Regions from separate parts of the Homo sapiens genome. Here regions 2, 3, 4 and 5 are each linked to region 1. Evidence: promoter capture Hi-C in human tissues and cell types (Jung and others, 2019). All regions are on one chromosome and are shown on one strand. Each heading gives the region's core, a stretch centred on a gene start or on the middle of the fragment in contact. The rest is flanking DNA. Distances are from core to core; before and after follow the strand shown.

Evidence for each region. Contacts are between HindIII fragments. The study calls those that stand out against the background at their distance.
Region 2: a contact is called between a fragment that was not itself captured here and the fragment with the promoter of RBM26 in region 1, in 1 of the 25 tissues and cell types used here (dorsolateral prefrontal cortex).
Region 3: a fragment that was not itself captured here is called in contact with the fragment with the promoter of RBM26 in region 1 in 1 of the 25 tissues and cell types used here (lymphoblastoid cells).
Region 4: a fragment that was not itself captured here is called in contact with the fragment with the promoter of RBM26 in region 1 in 1 of the 25 tissues and cell types used here (lymphoblastoid cells).
Region 5: a fragment that was not itself captured here is called in contact with the fragment with the promoter of RBM26 in region 1 in 1 of the 25 tissues and cell types used here (dorsolateral prefrontal cortex).

What each region holds. Positions count from the first base shown.
Region 1 is chr13:79,404,876-79,407,825 of GRCh38, reverse strand. RBM26 (RNA binding motif protein 26) reads left to right here and starts at 1,571. Exons shown (of 22, transcript NM_001366735.2): 1 at 1,571-2,122. The coding sequence starts at 2,052. It overlaps RBM26-AS1 (RBM26 antisense RNA 1), which reads right to left and starts at 1,517. Exons shown (of 7, transcript NR_038991.1): 1 at 1,349-1,517. RefSeq lists enhancers at 1,286-1,585, 915-1,906 and a silencer at 1,816-2,015. The HindIII fragment of the contact is 11,102 bases long and covers 1-2,950 here.
Region 2 is chr13:77,794,179-77,797,128 of GRCh38, reverse strand. No RefSeq gene overlaps it. Among named protein-coding and RNA genes, the nearest start is that of EDNRB-AS1, 23 kb to the left of the region's middle. The HindIII fragment of the contact is 7,775 bases long and covers 1-2,950 here.
Region 3 is chr13:78,188,335-78,191,284 of GRCh38, reverse strand. It overlaps OBI1-AS1 (OBI1 antisense RNA 1), which reads right to left. Exons shown (of 6, transcript NR_047001.1): 2 at 1,589-1,677. Among named protein-coding and RNA genes, the nearest start is that of OBI1-AS1, 130 kb to the right of the region's middle. The HindIII fragment of the contact is 4,851 bases long and covers 1-2,950 here.
Region 4 is chr13:78,300,524-78,303,473 of GRCh38, reverse strand. All of the region lies in intron 3 of OBI1-AS1 (OBI1 antisense RNA 1), which reads right to left. Among named protein-coding and RNA genes, the nearest start is that of OBI1-AS1, 250 kb to the right of the region's middle. The HindIII fragment of the contact is 4,582 bases long and covers 1-2,950 here.
Region 5 is chr13:78,380,576-78,383,525 of GRCh38, reverse strand. The region is part of intron 3 of OBI1-AS1 (OBI1 antisense RNA 1); the gene reads right to left. Among named protein-coding and RNA genes, the nearest start is that of POU4F1, 220 kb to the left of the region's middle. The HindIII fragment of the contact is 4,502 bases long and covers 1-2,950 here.

The DNA.
Region 1 (2,950 bases), core at 322-2,821:
AGAAAGGGAGGGTGAGCAAATCAGTTTATCTGGGGTATACAGTATTTGATAGAAGCTTTGGAAGGCTGAAGTGGAGAGCCAGAGTAATGGAGTAGCTGGTGATAAGGTTGAAAATATTGGTGGCGTCAGCCTGTGGCAAGGCTACAACAAACAGACTAAACAAATATAATTTTAACTTTCGGCAGTATTAAATTTATAAACAATTTTTATTGTAAAATACATATAAAACCTACCGTTTTCATTAAGTATATGGTCCACTGCATTAAGTACATTCATATTGTGCAACCCACACAACACCACTCATCTCCAGAATCTAAATCATCCTAAACTGAAACTCTATTATCCACTGAAATATAACTCCTCATTTCCCCTTCTCCTGGGCACCCTCTCCACCCCTGCTCTTGCTACCATTCCACCTTCTGTCTCTAGGAGTTTTGACTACTCTAGGTACTTAATGTAAGTGGAATCATAATATTTGTCCTTTCATGTCTGGTTTATTTCACTCAGCTAAATCACTTTAATCAACACCCTGGTTATTCAGTAGCTGGATTCTAATTTGTATTCTACTCTATATGCTGTATTTTAAAACAAATGTCTTGCTTTGTAGTTCATAATCTTTCCACCTAATCCTTAAAGACACTTCACTCTAGCAAATTATAAACTCAAGAGTTCCTAAGAACAATTTAGCCTATCGGTGTCTCTCATAAAGAGCTTTTATTGATCTACTTACTGAAAATGTCTTTAGATTGTGAATATTTTCATTCCATTACAGTTCATGGAACGTAGACCCTTTGTAAAATTCCACCTAGTATCTAAATAGAACTCAAGCAGGAATCAAACTTATTTGATCACCCAGGAAAATAGTTTATTTATTTGGGTTGCTAATATGAAGACTCTCTCTTTTGATACTATATAATTTCCCGATCTGAGATAGGGCTGAATTTGCTCTAAATAAAGAGAATTTTAAAAATAACAAAACTTATCTTTAGCTGGGGGAAAGTGCAGGCTGGAAACTACCTGAGAGACGTGAAGGTTCTCTCACCTTTCCCTTGTGGGCAGCCCTCAGTCATTAGGGCTCTACCAGCAAGTCAAGTACTGTTGGACAAGACACTAATCCTCTGGCGGTCTCATTGGGCTCCATTAGACCAGCCTGTGTTTACAAACCTCGTTCACATCACAGCATACACAGAATATGATACTGGTAGGGCACTTAGGTAAACTGAGGAGGTAGTGTGCTCGGCACCTGGAACCTACGGGCCGCCTGGTGTCGCGCACGCGGGAGTGTACGCTCTCAAAGAGCGATCCATCCGGCAGGACCGTTCCAGCTGACAGGCCACGGCCGTCTTACCGGGGACGAGCTGGGGTTCCCGCTGTTTCTGAAGTCAGCGGTCTTTTCCTCCTTGTAAGAAATAAGGTCTTTATATCATAAAGGTAAGCAAAGAATAAAAAGGCACAAAGGCCGCAAGCAACGCACACACGCAAAAATCGAACTACAGCACTCGACCCGCGCATTCTCCGCCGACCTTACGTCTCTCCCAGCAGGCTCCGGGAGCCACCGCGAGACTTCATCAATTCTCGCGAGATTTACCGGCAGCCATCTTCTTGGGGGTGCTGGGAGCCGGGAAGACCCCCTGAATCGTTCCCATTGAGCTGCCCTTCGCCTTCGCTTTCTTTACTTTTGCCTTTTCGACGTAGCCAACAAGCACCTGGTCCCGAGGCTGAGAGAAGGCTCGGGTCTAAGCGCGTGTCGCGCTTCCGGTCTGGGTAGATTTGCTGGGGAAGAGGGAAGGGGGAGGGCCCGGGCAAACCGTTGCTGTTTCAGCCCGGGCTGGGGGCCGGGGACGGGGAGCTCCTGGCACCCCGTGCACTTGTGGCCTGCGGCGGTCCTTGCAGAGCTGTTCGCCGACCGGGGCCCGCGGGAACCTGCCACCGGCGCCTCCCACCGCGGCCCACGCGGGCGGCGCGCGGAGGAGGGGGCGGGGGCAGCGGCGGCTGTAGCGGCCGCGACCTGGGCGGGCGGAGGAGTGTGACGGGCCTTAGGGCCGCTGTGGATGGTTTCTAAAATGATCATTGAAAACTTCGAGGCACTCAAGTCCTGGCTCAGCAAGACTCTCGAGCCCATGTGAGTATCCGGGGGATATCTCTTTGCAGGGATGGCAGTGGGAGATAGGCGGACCCAGAGATCTGTGCAGTTTCCCCAAGTGCCTGCGGTGGAGGCCGAAGCGGTGAACGGAGGTCCCAGGGTTCTGTGGCTTCTCCTCCTCGTCCACCTCGCTTCCAGATTCAGGATACCCCCGAGAGCCTGAGTCGAGCTTTATTTTATTGCTGAGCTGCTCTCGTTTTCCCGTTATATATAGACCGTCTCCAACCCCCACCCGCAATATTTTCCGGGGGCCTCAAAATCGGTTTATTTTAGTGAAACCGACTGTATTTTACTTCCTACAGATTATTTTACCTTGTTTTTCTAAATGAAGTAGACGGCCTTTATTGGGGATTCGGGCAGTTCTAGCTTAAATCACTCACGTTTCACCTAAATATAATTCCTGAAAGCAAGGCCACGTCTCCCATGTGCTGTCTGGCTCATCTGCACCTCTCTTCACTGATTGAAGATGTAACAGGTGCTGAGGTGGCCAGTAAAATTCCCCTTTCCCGCCTACGCGTTCGTTAGCTTGGAGAGGAGGAAGAAAATTGAATCTTCATCCATATGGAATATTTAGCAGTTTTAAGTGGGATGCTATAGATAGATTTTGTGTTGGGGGCTGCGGTTAGAGTGCTGAAATAGTCTTAGATTGGAAAATTTAAGGAGTGTTTTGACGACTTGTTAATACAAAATATGACATGGACCAAAGTGCTTAATCAGAATTGGTTGATTTACAATAATGCAATGGGGAAAATTCACGTATTTAATAAAGTTATTAGGTACCTACTGTATACTACGGGAGGCTTTGGG
Region 2 (2,950 bases), core at 328-2,827, 1.6 Mb after region 1:
GCAATGAACATAATTCGTGCATGTGTCTTTTTGGTAAAATAATTAATTTTCTTTTGGATATATACCCAGTAATGAGATTGCTACTATCGAATGGTAGTTCTAAGTTCTTTGAAAAATCTCCAAACTGCTTTTCACAGTGGCTGAACTAATTTACATTCTCACCAGCAATATATATGCATTCCTTTTTCTTCACAGCCTAGCCTGTATCTGTTACTTTTGACATTTTAATAATAGCCATTCTGACTGGTGTGAGATTGTATCTCATTGTGGTTTTGATTTGCATTTCTCTAATGATTAGTAATGTTGAACATTTTTCTTATGTTTGTTGGCTGCTTATATGTCTTCTTTTGAGAAGTGTCTGTTCATGTATTTGGCCCATTTTTTCATGGGGTTGTCTTTTGTTTGATGAGTTGTTTAAGTTCTTTATAGATTCTGGATATCAGACCTTTCTCAAATACATAGGTGTTCAAGTATTTTCTCCCATTCTGTAGGTTGTCTATTTACTCTCTTGATATAATAGTTTCTTTAGCTATGCAGAAGCTCTTTAGTTTAATTAGGTCCCATGTGCCAGTCTTTTTTAACGTTGTTGCAATTGCATTTGAGGACCTAGTCATAAATTCTTTCCTAAGACTTATGTCCCAAATACTGTTTCTGAGGTTTTATTCTAGGATTTATATAATTTGAGGTCTTGCATTTAAGTCTTTAATTCATTTTGAGTTAATTTTTGTATATGGTGAAATGTAGGGGTCCAGTTTCATTCTTCTGCATACCCAGCTATCCCAGCACCATTTATTAAATAGGGAGTGCTTTCCCATTGCTTATTTTTGTCACCTCTGTCAAAGATCAGATGGGTAGATGTGTGACTTTATTTGTGGGTTCTCTAGTCTGTTCTATTGGTCTGTGTGCCTGTTTTTATACCAGTACCAAGCTGTTTTGGTTACTGCAGCCCTACAGTATAGTTTGAAGTTGTGTAATGTGATGCCTCTGGCTTTGTTCTTTTTCCTTAGAATTGCTTTGGCTATTCAGGCTCTCTCTCTTCTCTCTCTCTCTCTCACTCTCTCTCTCTATATATATATACACATATGTGTATATATATGTGTATATATATAAAATACATATATATAATATATGTAAACTTTAGAAGAGTTTTTTTAGTTTTTTTTTTTTTAGTTTTTCATTGGTGAAAAAATGAAGTTTGTAGCTTGATAGGAATAGCACTGAATCTGTAGATTGCTTTGGGCAGTATGGCCATTTTAACAATATTAATTCTTCCAATCCATGAGCATGGAATTTTTCTCCATTTGCTTGTGTCATCTATGATTTCTTTCAGCAGTGTTTTATAATTCTTGTAGAGATCTGTCACCTCCTTGATTAGATGTATTTCTAGGTTGTTTTTTCTTTTTGCAGCCATTGTAAATTGGATAATGTTCCTGATTTGCATCTCAGCTTGAACATTATTGGTGTATAGAAATGCTGCTAATTTTGTATTCTGAAACTTTACTGAAGTTATTTGTCAGTTCCAGGAGTCTTTTGGTGGAGTCTTTAGGGTTTTCTAGGTATAGAATCAAATTGCTAGTGAATAAGAGACACTTTAACTTCTTCTTTTCCTATCTGGATGCTTTTTATTTCTTCCTCTTGCCCTGATTACTTTGGCTAGGACTTCCAATACTGTATTGAATAGTAGTGGTGAGAGTGAACATCCTTGTCTTGTTCCAGTTCTCAAGGTGAATTATTTCAGATATTGCCCATTCAGTATGATGTTGGCTGTGGGACTGTCATAGATAACTCTTACTACTTTGAAACATGTTCCTTCTATGCCTAGTTTCTTGAGGGTTTTTCTTAATCATGGAGACATGTTGGATTTTATCAAAAGCTTTTTTCTGCATCTATTGAGATGATCATATGGTTTTTGTCATTAACTTTGTTTATGTGGTGAATCACCTTTATTGATTTGCCTATATTGAACCAACCTTGAATCCCAGGAATGAAGCCTAATTCATCATGGTGAATTAACTTGGTGATGTGCTGCTGGATTTGCTAGTATTTTGTTGAGGATTTTTGCCTCTAAGTTCACCAGGGATATTGACCTGTAGTTTCCTTTTTTTATTTTGTCTTTGCCAGGTTTTAGTACCAAGGCAATACTGGCTTCATAGAATGAGTCGGGGAGGAGTCCCTCCTCCTTGATATTTTGGAAAAGTTTCAGTAGAATTGACACTAGTTCTTTGTATGTCTGGTAGAAACTGACTGAATCCATCTAGTCTGGGGTTTTGTTGTTTGGGTTTTGGTTGGTAGGTTTTTTATTACTAATTCAATTTCAGAACTCAGTACTGGTCTGTTCAGGGTTTCCATTTCTTCCTGACTCATTCTTAGAAGATTTTGTGCTTCCAGGAATTTATCCATTTCCTCGAGATTTTCTAGTTCGTGTGCATCAAAGTTCTTCATAAGGTTCTCTAAGGATCTTTTGTATTTCTGTGGGATTATTTGTAATATCATCTTTATCATTTCTGATTTTGCTTATTTGTATCTTCTATCTTTGTTAATCTAGTGAGTAGTCTATTGATTTTCTTTATCCTTTCAGAAAAAAACAACCAACTTTTGGCTTGGTTGATTACTTATATAGATATTTTGGTCTCAGTGTCATTCAGTCCTTCTCTCATTTTAATTATTCCTTTTCTTCTGCTAGCTTTGAAGTCAGTTTGTTCATGTTTTTCTAGTTCATCTAGGTGTGATGTTGATTATTGATTTGAGATCTTTCTAACATTTCGAGGTAAGTGTTAGCACCATAAACACCACTCTTAACAATGTTTTTGCCACTTTCCAGAGATTTGGGTATATTATTCCTCTGTTTTCATTTATTTCAAATAATTTTTTATTTCTCCCTTAATTTGTTGTTTACCCAAAAGTCATGCAGCAGCAAGTTGTTCAATTTTCCATGTAATCATGTGGTTTT
Region 3 (2,950 bases), core at 136-2,635, 1.2 Mb after region 1:
GCAGTGGAGGGGGCATGGAAGCTCCATACCCCTTCTCATATGCCATGCTTTATGCTTCTCTTACAACTGGCTGGATACTCATCTGAGTCCTTTGTAATATACTTTATAATAAGTGGGTGCAAGTGTAAGTAAAGTGTTTCCCTGAGTTCTATGAGCTGATCTAGCAAATTATTCAAACCTGAGGAGGGAGTCATAAGAGCCTGCATTTTGTAGCTGGTCTGTCAGAAGTACAGGTCACAACATGGGACTTGCAGTTGGTATCTGATGTGGGGAGGTGTGAGTCTTGTGGAACTGAATCCTCAATCTGTGAGATCTAACACTATGTACAGGAAAATAGTGTCAGAATTGAATTACAGCACACCCAGCTGGTGTCTGCTGAAGAAGTACTTTGTGTATGGGGAAATAATCCTCACACATCTGGTGTCAGAAGTGTGGTGTTGAGTGGTTTGTGAGAGTAGGAGAAACACTTTTTTTCCTATCCCTAATAGTCTCTAATATAAATCTCCTTCTGATAAGGAAAAGTAGAACATTTGTTGAATTCTTTGGAGTTTGTAGGTAGCAAAGAATACCTTTGTTAATGCAAATCCAATTGATTTATTCAGAAGACAGCCAGCAAGAGAGGTTTCTGCAGTAAGTCAGACTATGACCTAAGGTTCCACACAAACATACTCTATGACCCTGAAGTTTTGATGGCAGTAGAGATGCTTCTGATAGGTAAAAATGCTGTGTGGAGTAACTGATAACCCTCAGTAGGAGGGTAACAATGCAAATACCTCAGTTTCTGGAGCAAGACTATACCTTCTGAGTCACAGAAATTCTCACTGTTTGAGAAACAGCTCCTGGTACACTATTGAGTACTTGATCCTGACACACCAAGGAAATATAAAGCCCTGATACGCAACGAGGTGAAATCCTGACAAATGGAAATTGAAAAGTGGCAGATAAAATTCCTATTCCCTTCTCTTCTGAACAGGCTATCTTTAGATTCAGTTTTTCTTGTTATTTCTCAGAAGACCATCTTGCAAGACGAAGTGACCAGTTGTACTGGATAGCTCAGTAGCATCCTCACTTCAGTCTTCCTTCTGCCCTGTGTTGCTTCCTTTTTCCCTCACACCTAATTTTCTGTGATAACATTTTCAGGAAATTTGTAGCCCACAAACATCGCCTCAGTTTCTGCTTTCTGGAAAGACCAAGAAAGGGTCTCCTACTTAAGACCCTTCAGTGGTTAAGCCTGTTGTTTCAGCTCTGTCTTTCTAATCACCTCTCTCAACACTTCTTGCCTTGCAGTTTATACTCTAATTATATCAAATTGCTTTTGCTTCCCTATAGAAATCAGGCTGTTTCATACCTTTAGACCTTGACTTATGCTCTTTACTTGGTCAAGAATGCCATCTTTCATTCCCCTTTAATTATCATGTAGTAATCAACTCAGAGGTCACTGCCTTCTGCATTTCTTTCTCAGGGTAAGAGGTGTGAGATGTAATGATCTGTCATTTGTCTTATAGGAGATTGTCTGACACACCCTATGCCACTGATACACTGAAAACATCGCCAGTGTAACAGGACCCTGAATCTTCATGATACTTACCTCCTATGCTTCGATAGGCCTGTGTCATGCAAGGGCTCCAGGATAAACTGGACGGCCATTAGGAGACAATATGTGGTAGGGTGGATCACCTATGAGAAAATGTGAAGGACATTTTGAAGCTATTTGTTAAGTGTCTGGACCCTTGAATTTAGACTGTTGACTGAAATAAGGAAAATCCGGGCTGTGCCCCCACCCCACCCCACACACAATTTGGACAAGAAGAAAAAGAACTCACTTGAGAGGGGTAAGATTTAAGAATATGTGCTCTACTTTTAGATGAAGAAAGGAGAAATCCTGCAAGTGCAGATTTCTGATCCAAACTTTGAAAACTTGGAGAATGTTATGCAATAAAGAAATCAAGGTAACATTTTACAAACCAAATGAAGGCTGTTAATTACAGCTTAGGCTATTTAGATTTGGTTCAACAGTCATCACATTTACAGTAAACTTCACCTTTCACTTGTGGTAGAACAAATTGATTCTCCCTTTAGTTCAAATATGTTTGAGTGCTTTATCTTTGCTATGTGCTATGCAAGGAACTTAGAGTACAGAGAAGAATCACACAGGCTCTTTGCTATCAGGGAGCTTCTAGTCTAATCTGAGGCATTGCCCAGTCCCACTGATCATGGTTGGAGAGCTATGAGAGAGGTATGCCAGGGCACTGTGGGAGACTAGGAACAAGGCTGTCCAGTGTGCACGAGCAGAGGAGGCTCCCTTATGACCCTTGCACCCTAAAGTACGGCAAGACAGAAACATTATGAATGAGGATAAAGACCCTGTCTGTAGCAAGTAGGATCCATAACAATGAATACTGGGTATGTATGTGAGTATTCTACTGCAGAGAACTGCAAGATTTTGAGGAAAAGTGGGCCCATTTAATATCATTGTTAGCGGTCTTTTTCTCTCATAACATTTGTTCTCTATCATGCTCTTTTCTAACTCAGTAAAAGACTTCTGGGTATGTTGAAGTTGTTAATAATTCCTATTTAGTTTTGTTTTCCATAAACTTGGTCAATTTTTTCTAGCATAAAAAAAAGTTCTTTCCAGCTGTGATTTTAAAGAAATAGCCTCTTCCATTTGTGTCTTATGAGTAAGCCAACATTTCAAATTTAGCAGTTGAGCTAAAACTTCTACACTTTTTTCTCCTTCAGAAAACATCTTCCTCCTTTCTCACTGGTAACTCTGTTTGTTTAAAGTCCTAACTATGGATTCTCATGTGCTATCCTATGTAGCAAGCAGGAGGGGGAAATCTCCGCCTACCTGGATTCATGCCATTTTAGTCCTTTCCTCCCAGACTGAACAGACAATTATTAAGACTTTAGACTTCTTTGAATTCTGCTTGATGTTGACTGAGGTTGTTTA
Region 4 (2,950 bases), core at 211-2,710, 1.1 Mb after region 1:
TATTAATTAACTTCACTGGTTTATTTTTTACATGTGACTATTAGAAAATTTAAAGTTACGTATGTGACTCATTATTTTCTATTGGACAGTGCTAATCTACAAGGTAGTCAATACAGTGATAAGCGCTGAGGATTCTAAGATGAAAACAACAGTGACTTGGCCTTCAAGAAGCTTAGTTTAATGCTAACATGGAAAGTGTGGAGTAGAAATTCTAACTATATTATTTTCTAGTGGCTTGATATCCAAAGCTAAATGCCTTTTCATATTGCTTTTTCTTTTGAGTCAGTATTCACAATATATAGAAGTCATTTAGCCCTTGCAATGTTCTGAGGAACTCCGTGTTTTTGTCAGATTACCCTTGCACTGGGTTGAAATAACTTGGATGCTAAGTGGAATCGGCCTATTATGCTAACGTTTTACTTCAGGAAGACTTCAGTCACTATTTAAGACCTCAGCCTCATGGAGAGGCGGAGCCCACTGACAAACCTCCAAGGCAGGCACTGGAGCAGGTTTCCCAGAGATGGTTGTTCTGGTGGTTGGCATTCCACATCCCTACTTAGCTTAGGGCTGATGACAGGACCACTCAGGGATAGGGGTACACTCAGTTGTCTTCTCTGGGAATGGAGTTTTTCTCTATAGCTGTGACTTTGGCCTCATGAGCTCGATACTCCCACCGCTATTGATCTGGTTTAAATGGCAAATAGTGAAATATGCTATCCTTGGAAAAGAGACGTTATACAGGGAGATTTTGCTCCATGAAAGCAAGCCTACCTCACTCATATGATATCCATGGCAGTGCTGGACCACATTAATTATTTTCCAGAACCATGAACAGTAGTTTAGCTTCCCAACAAACACTTTTATTTCTGCCACGGCCAGATGCTCTTCTTGTCTCCACAACAAAATGTTTTAATGATTATAAGCAGTTCTATTTTTTCACATTTTCCTCAGAGTGGCTTTTATTAAAGTCAGTTCATGTATGCTTGCACATACACAAAACTTAATTTCAAGGAGGAGTAAAAGGAATTTTTGACATCCCAGCAATGGCATTTTCTTTATGACAGTTCTAAAATGTTTTGCCTGTGGGGAAAAGAGGTGGAGTTAGTGACTTGGCAGTCACTAAGGCGAATGCAGCCTTGTTAGGATAGACAAATCCAATTGCTCCGAGTTTTACTGTCTGGTCTAGGCTCCCCTGCTTACCACCTGATTGGATAGTGATGGGGATTGAATGACAAGAATGACAAAGACCACAGGGCCATCGCTTTGTGGCTGGAATTGATGGCTCTGTAAGTACAGTTTTTCACCTTCAATACATTTAAACACCCAATGGTTAACCTAAAGTACCTCAGATTTGCTTCTATTCTTATTTACACCCCCTTTACAACTGAATTAAAGTCCCAAAAGACAAACATTTTTATTGTTCAGATGGTTAACTAAAATCTTTATTTCTGTAAACTTTGTTTTTAATTTCCCACATTACACTGACCTATGTTTCCGTAAACTTTTGATTAAGAATGTTCATATGATATTTTACTAAAATGTACAATTGAGCCTCTGACTCCACAGTAGATAGCCAATTCGCTCACATTGTATAACATTTCATCAATTTAATATGTTTTGTTTTTCACAAATATTATTAAGAAAAATTGTTATAATATTAACTAGAAAAAATAAACAATATTAAGCCCTTCCCTAGTTTAGTTTATGTAATAATAGATTACTCTGGATCATTTTCTAGTAAACCCAAATAATAACCTTTGAAGGTAATTCTTATTACAATGGTAAACAGAATGAAATTTCATTGCTCAGGATGACATATTTTAATCAAAATGTCTGATGTCAAATGTTTAAAAATTAAAATATGTCAAATGTTTAAAAATTAAAATATTGCATCTTTGTTTTTATATGTTGTACTATATAATAAAAAATGGTTGAGCTAGCCACATTTCATCGGCAGATAAAGCACAGTATTAGCTGAAAGCTTTAGTTGACACATGCAAAAGCCCTTTCGATTATCTTTTATATTACAGTGGGAATAACATTTATGGCAATTATTTTAGGAAAATTAGTTACCTAGAAGCTCTGCAGTTGCCTTCAGTCAAATCAGAGCCAATTTTAGATTAAAGATCATTTTGGTCAATTTGAAAAAGAAAAAATATAAGGTTTGACATATATAAAAATAAATGGGTTATGGGAAAGCCATATCAGATTGCATCTTAGGGGTATTTTACCATTTAAGTAAACTTATACTTGTATAAAATAGCACTTTAACAATAAGGAAAACATGAAGGCAGTAAGGTTAGGTTGAAAATCAACCTGTAAACTACCATGCTATTTTGGTAGTTAACAGAAGCAAAATTCTTATAACTATATTATATCTTAATTAGAAAATACATTAAATAATTAATTACATGAATCCATAAGCACTTAATTTTATAGTTATCGCTAGGTACAGTAAAGGATGAATTACTAATATTTTCTACTGTTAATACATGGTTAATTAATGATTAAACAGTGTTTTACTGCTCACTCATTAATGATTTATTACAGTTACTTAAACAGTTTTCCAGATTTGAGTGCCTTAAATAGACATCTTAACATTACTTTCCAGGTTTAACTTCTTTCCACTGTATTGGTTACTGTGTGTTCCATTGTATTATTCTGATCTCCTTTTAACTATGAATAGCAAATATCTTAATTACCCGAACAGTGAGAGCTAATCCATTGGCTTGCACGAATTTGACTACCAGAGTTGAATATGAAAAGGGGCATGGATCTTTTTGTGTCATTTCACCTTTGCTCTCTGTCCCATGGGTAGGTGTTCTTAAACTATGAGTGGGAGAAGGAACTATGAGATATTGAACCCAACAAACCCAAATGGCAACTCATCTTAAAATGTGTTTCTTGTTCTGGTACCTAGAGTGTTCTCAGGTTGATTCCAGTTCTGCCT
Region 5 (2,950 bases), core at 247-2,746, 1.0 Mb after region 1:
ACATCCGGATTTGTCCCTCAATAAGTAACATACAGACATTTCAACTGCAGTTTGCCCAGTTCTGCTTCACTGGTCATTGGGGAAATTCATCTAAAGCTGCAAAAAAGACTAGGAATGTTTGCATCATATTAATAAACAGGAAACCGAGGAAACTGCCAACTGGCAGCAGAGTGTGTTTTGGTGGTTTGATAAGGCTACTAAAGAGTTTATGATGTGACAGATGTTTCACTACACTATTGTGAAATGAATAGATTATGAGAAGTAATTAGATGTACATTGGAATCAATGCTGTTATCATCGAGGCCTTCGGGCGATGCAGTAGATGAGAGTCTTGGCAGCAGGTGGTCCAATGGCTCCGAGACAGGAAGACACACCGCGGGAGACTGAGTGACAGGTTTCACAGATCCAGGGGGTGAGAGATCTGAGCTGGGGCTTGCATTTGTAATCTTTACTCATGTATAAATAATAACAACTCCACCATTGACTTCATATGCTATGTCATAGCCTCTGTTACCCTCACACACGTAGAATAGTGCTGGTTTCAGACACGCAAAGTTATTCTTGGTCTCCGTGTTTTCAAATATGCATATGTATGTTCAACTGTAACTGACAACTCTATCATTTTTTGAGGGAAGATTTTTAGAGCTAATCATCTGATGATTACATTTATTTTTAATGCTTGGCATTGAGCCGCCATTGTACAAAACTTCCTATAGGTTGCAGATCAGAAGCTGCAAAGTACTTTAACTGCCTTTCATCAGGAAAATGATTTCTTCTCTCTGGCTCAATGACTAACGTTTAAAGACACACGTTTGCCTCTCTGCTCTGTGAAATCCCTTTGCAGGAGACTTGGCAGGGTCACCCTCCATCCTTGAAGCAACCATATGGAGCCTGCTGGTTTCAAGAGAAGGTTTTGGTTTCTGCCAGTTTCCCGGGTCAGCTATTAGCACACTGGGGAATGTTGAAGTTTCCAAGCACAGAATGAAGAGGGAGGAAAGAAATGGGTGATTAGGGGAATTAAGTAACTGATTCCCTGTGTACATCTGCCACCCCTGCAGGAAGAAATATCTGGTAAAACCATTTATTAGCCCCTATCTGCTTAAAACAGCAATGGTATTTATGTAAAAGAAGGCGGGGAGCTTTATTGAACAATCTCAAAATAATATGTAGCTCTCATAATTAAAAAGATCTTAGTAGAAAATATGTAGCATATGCTGTATACTCATTCACATGTATACAAGTTTATAATACTCTTATGTTTCTACCTCATTAATTCTATTAGTTCTTCTATTAGAAGAAGTTCTTCTATTAGTTCTTCTAATTCATTAGTTCTTCTATTAATTCTTTTAATAAGCATTCATTGAACCTTTGCTATAACCCTATTACTTGCTGTTACGGATATGAACTTAAGTGATTATGTCATGAAGAACGCAATTGTGTGTGTGTGTGTGTGTGTGTGTGTGCGCGCGCGCGCGCGCGCGCGCATGCGTGCATGTGCGTGCATACATGCTTTCATGTTACTCCCTGTGTGCTTTCCACACAAGAAACTAGATATTTTGTTGGGGTGGTCTTTTTGGGTGCTTTCTTTGAGGCTAGTATGCATTATGTATCAGACTTCACAGAACAGAGAATAAAAATCGATGTCATCTAAAGAAATAATATAGTACTATGATAGAAAAACCCTTTAAAACCTAAGGACAGCTAGTTGGCATTCTTAACTAATCCATGGATGTTTTGGCATAAGCAGTGGCTGCAAAACATGTTCTAAGATGATAAGATTTTGTTTCTTATTAGTAATCTGCTTAATGAAAGCCTAGAAAAAATAATGTACTCCACATGCCACAGATTAAAATAAGAGTGATAAAGATCTAAATGTATGAAACACAAAGCTTTTGCTTTTCAAAGTTCTGCTGTATTGGCTGTGTCTGGGGATCTCTAGTGTAAATCATAAGCTCATATATTTCTAATAGAGCTATGGTTGATCAATCAAGACTTCCTACCAAGGCAATGATGCTTAATCCTTCATATATAACAGGACCTCATCAAATGGGCACAAGAAACAATCTGAAGAGGAAGGATCTGTGCAATGGGTCTATCCCCAAATGAGCAAGAAGTTACAGTAATAAAAGCAGCCACTTATGGAATACTCTGCTAAGTGCTTTCCAGATATTATCTCATTTAATCTTACCAATAGCCTTAGACAGTACATTCTATGATTATCTTTATTTTATAGATGAAAACATTAGAGTTTGGGTCAAGAAAATCACCCAGAGTTGTTCAAAGAATGTCAAAACCTGGATTTAAAACCAGTCCTCTGATTTCAAAGCTCATTTGCTTTGTCACCATATTTCAGGTCATATATTTTTATTTGAGTTCTTCGCTTTTTCTGTGGGACTTAAGGTCTGACAGGTTTCAAATAAACAGGACGGTTATTCACTCTTGGTGGGAGTGTAAATTAGTTCCACCATTGTGGAAGACAGTGTGGTGATTCCTCAAGGATCTAGAAACAGAAATACCATTTGACCCAGCAATTCCATTACTGGGTATATACCCAAAGGATTATAAATCATTCTACTATAAAGGCACATGCACACGTATGTTTACTGTAACACTATTCACAATAACGAAGACTTGGAACCAACCCAAATGCCCATCAATGATAGACTGGATAAAGAAAATGTTGCACATATACACCATGGAATACTATGTAGCCATAAAAAGGATGAGTTCCTGTCCTTTGCAGGGACATGGATGAAGCTGGAAACCATCATTCTCAGCAAGCTAACACAGGAACAGAAAACCGAACACCACATCTTCTCACTCATAAGTGGGAGTTAAACAATGAGAACACCTGGACACAGGGAGGGGAACATCACACATGGGGGCATGTCAGGGGTTGGGGGGCTTGGGGAAGTATAGCATTAGGAGAAATACCTAATGTAGATGGTGG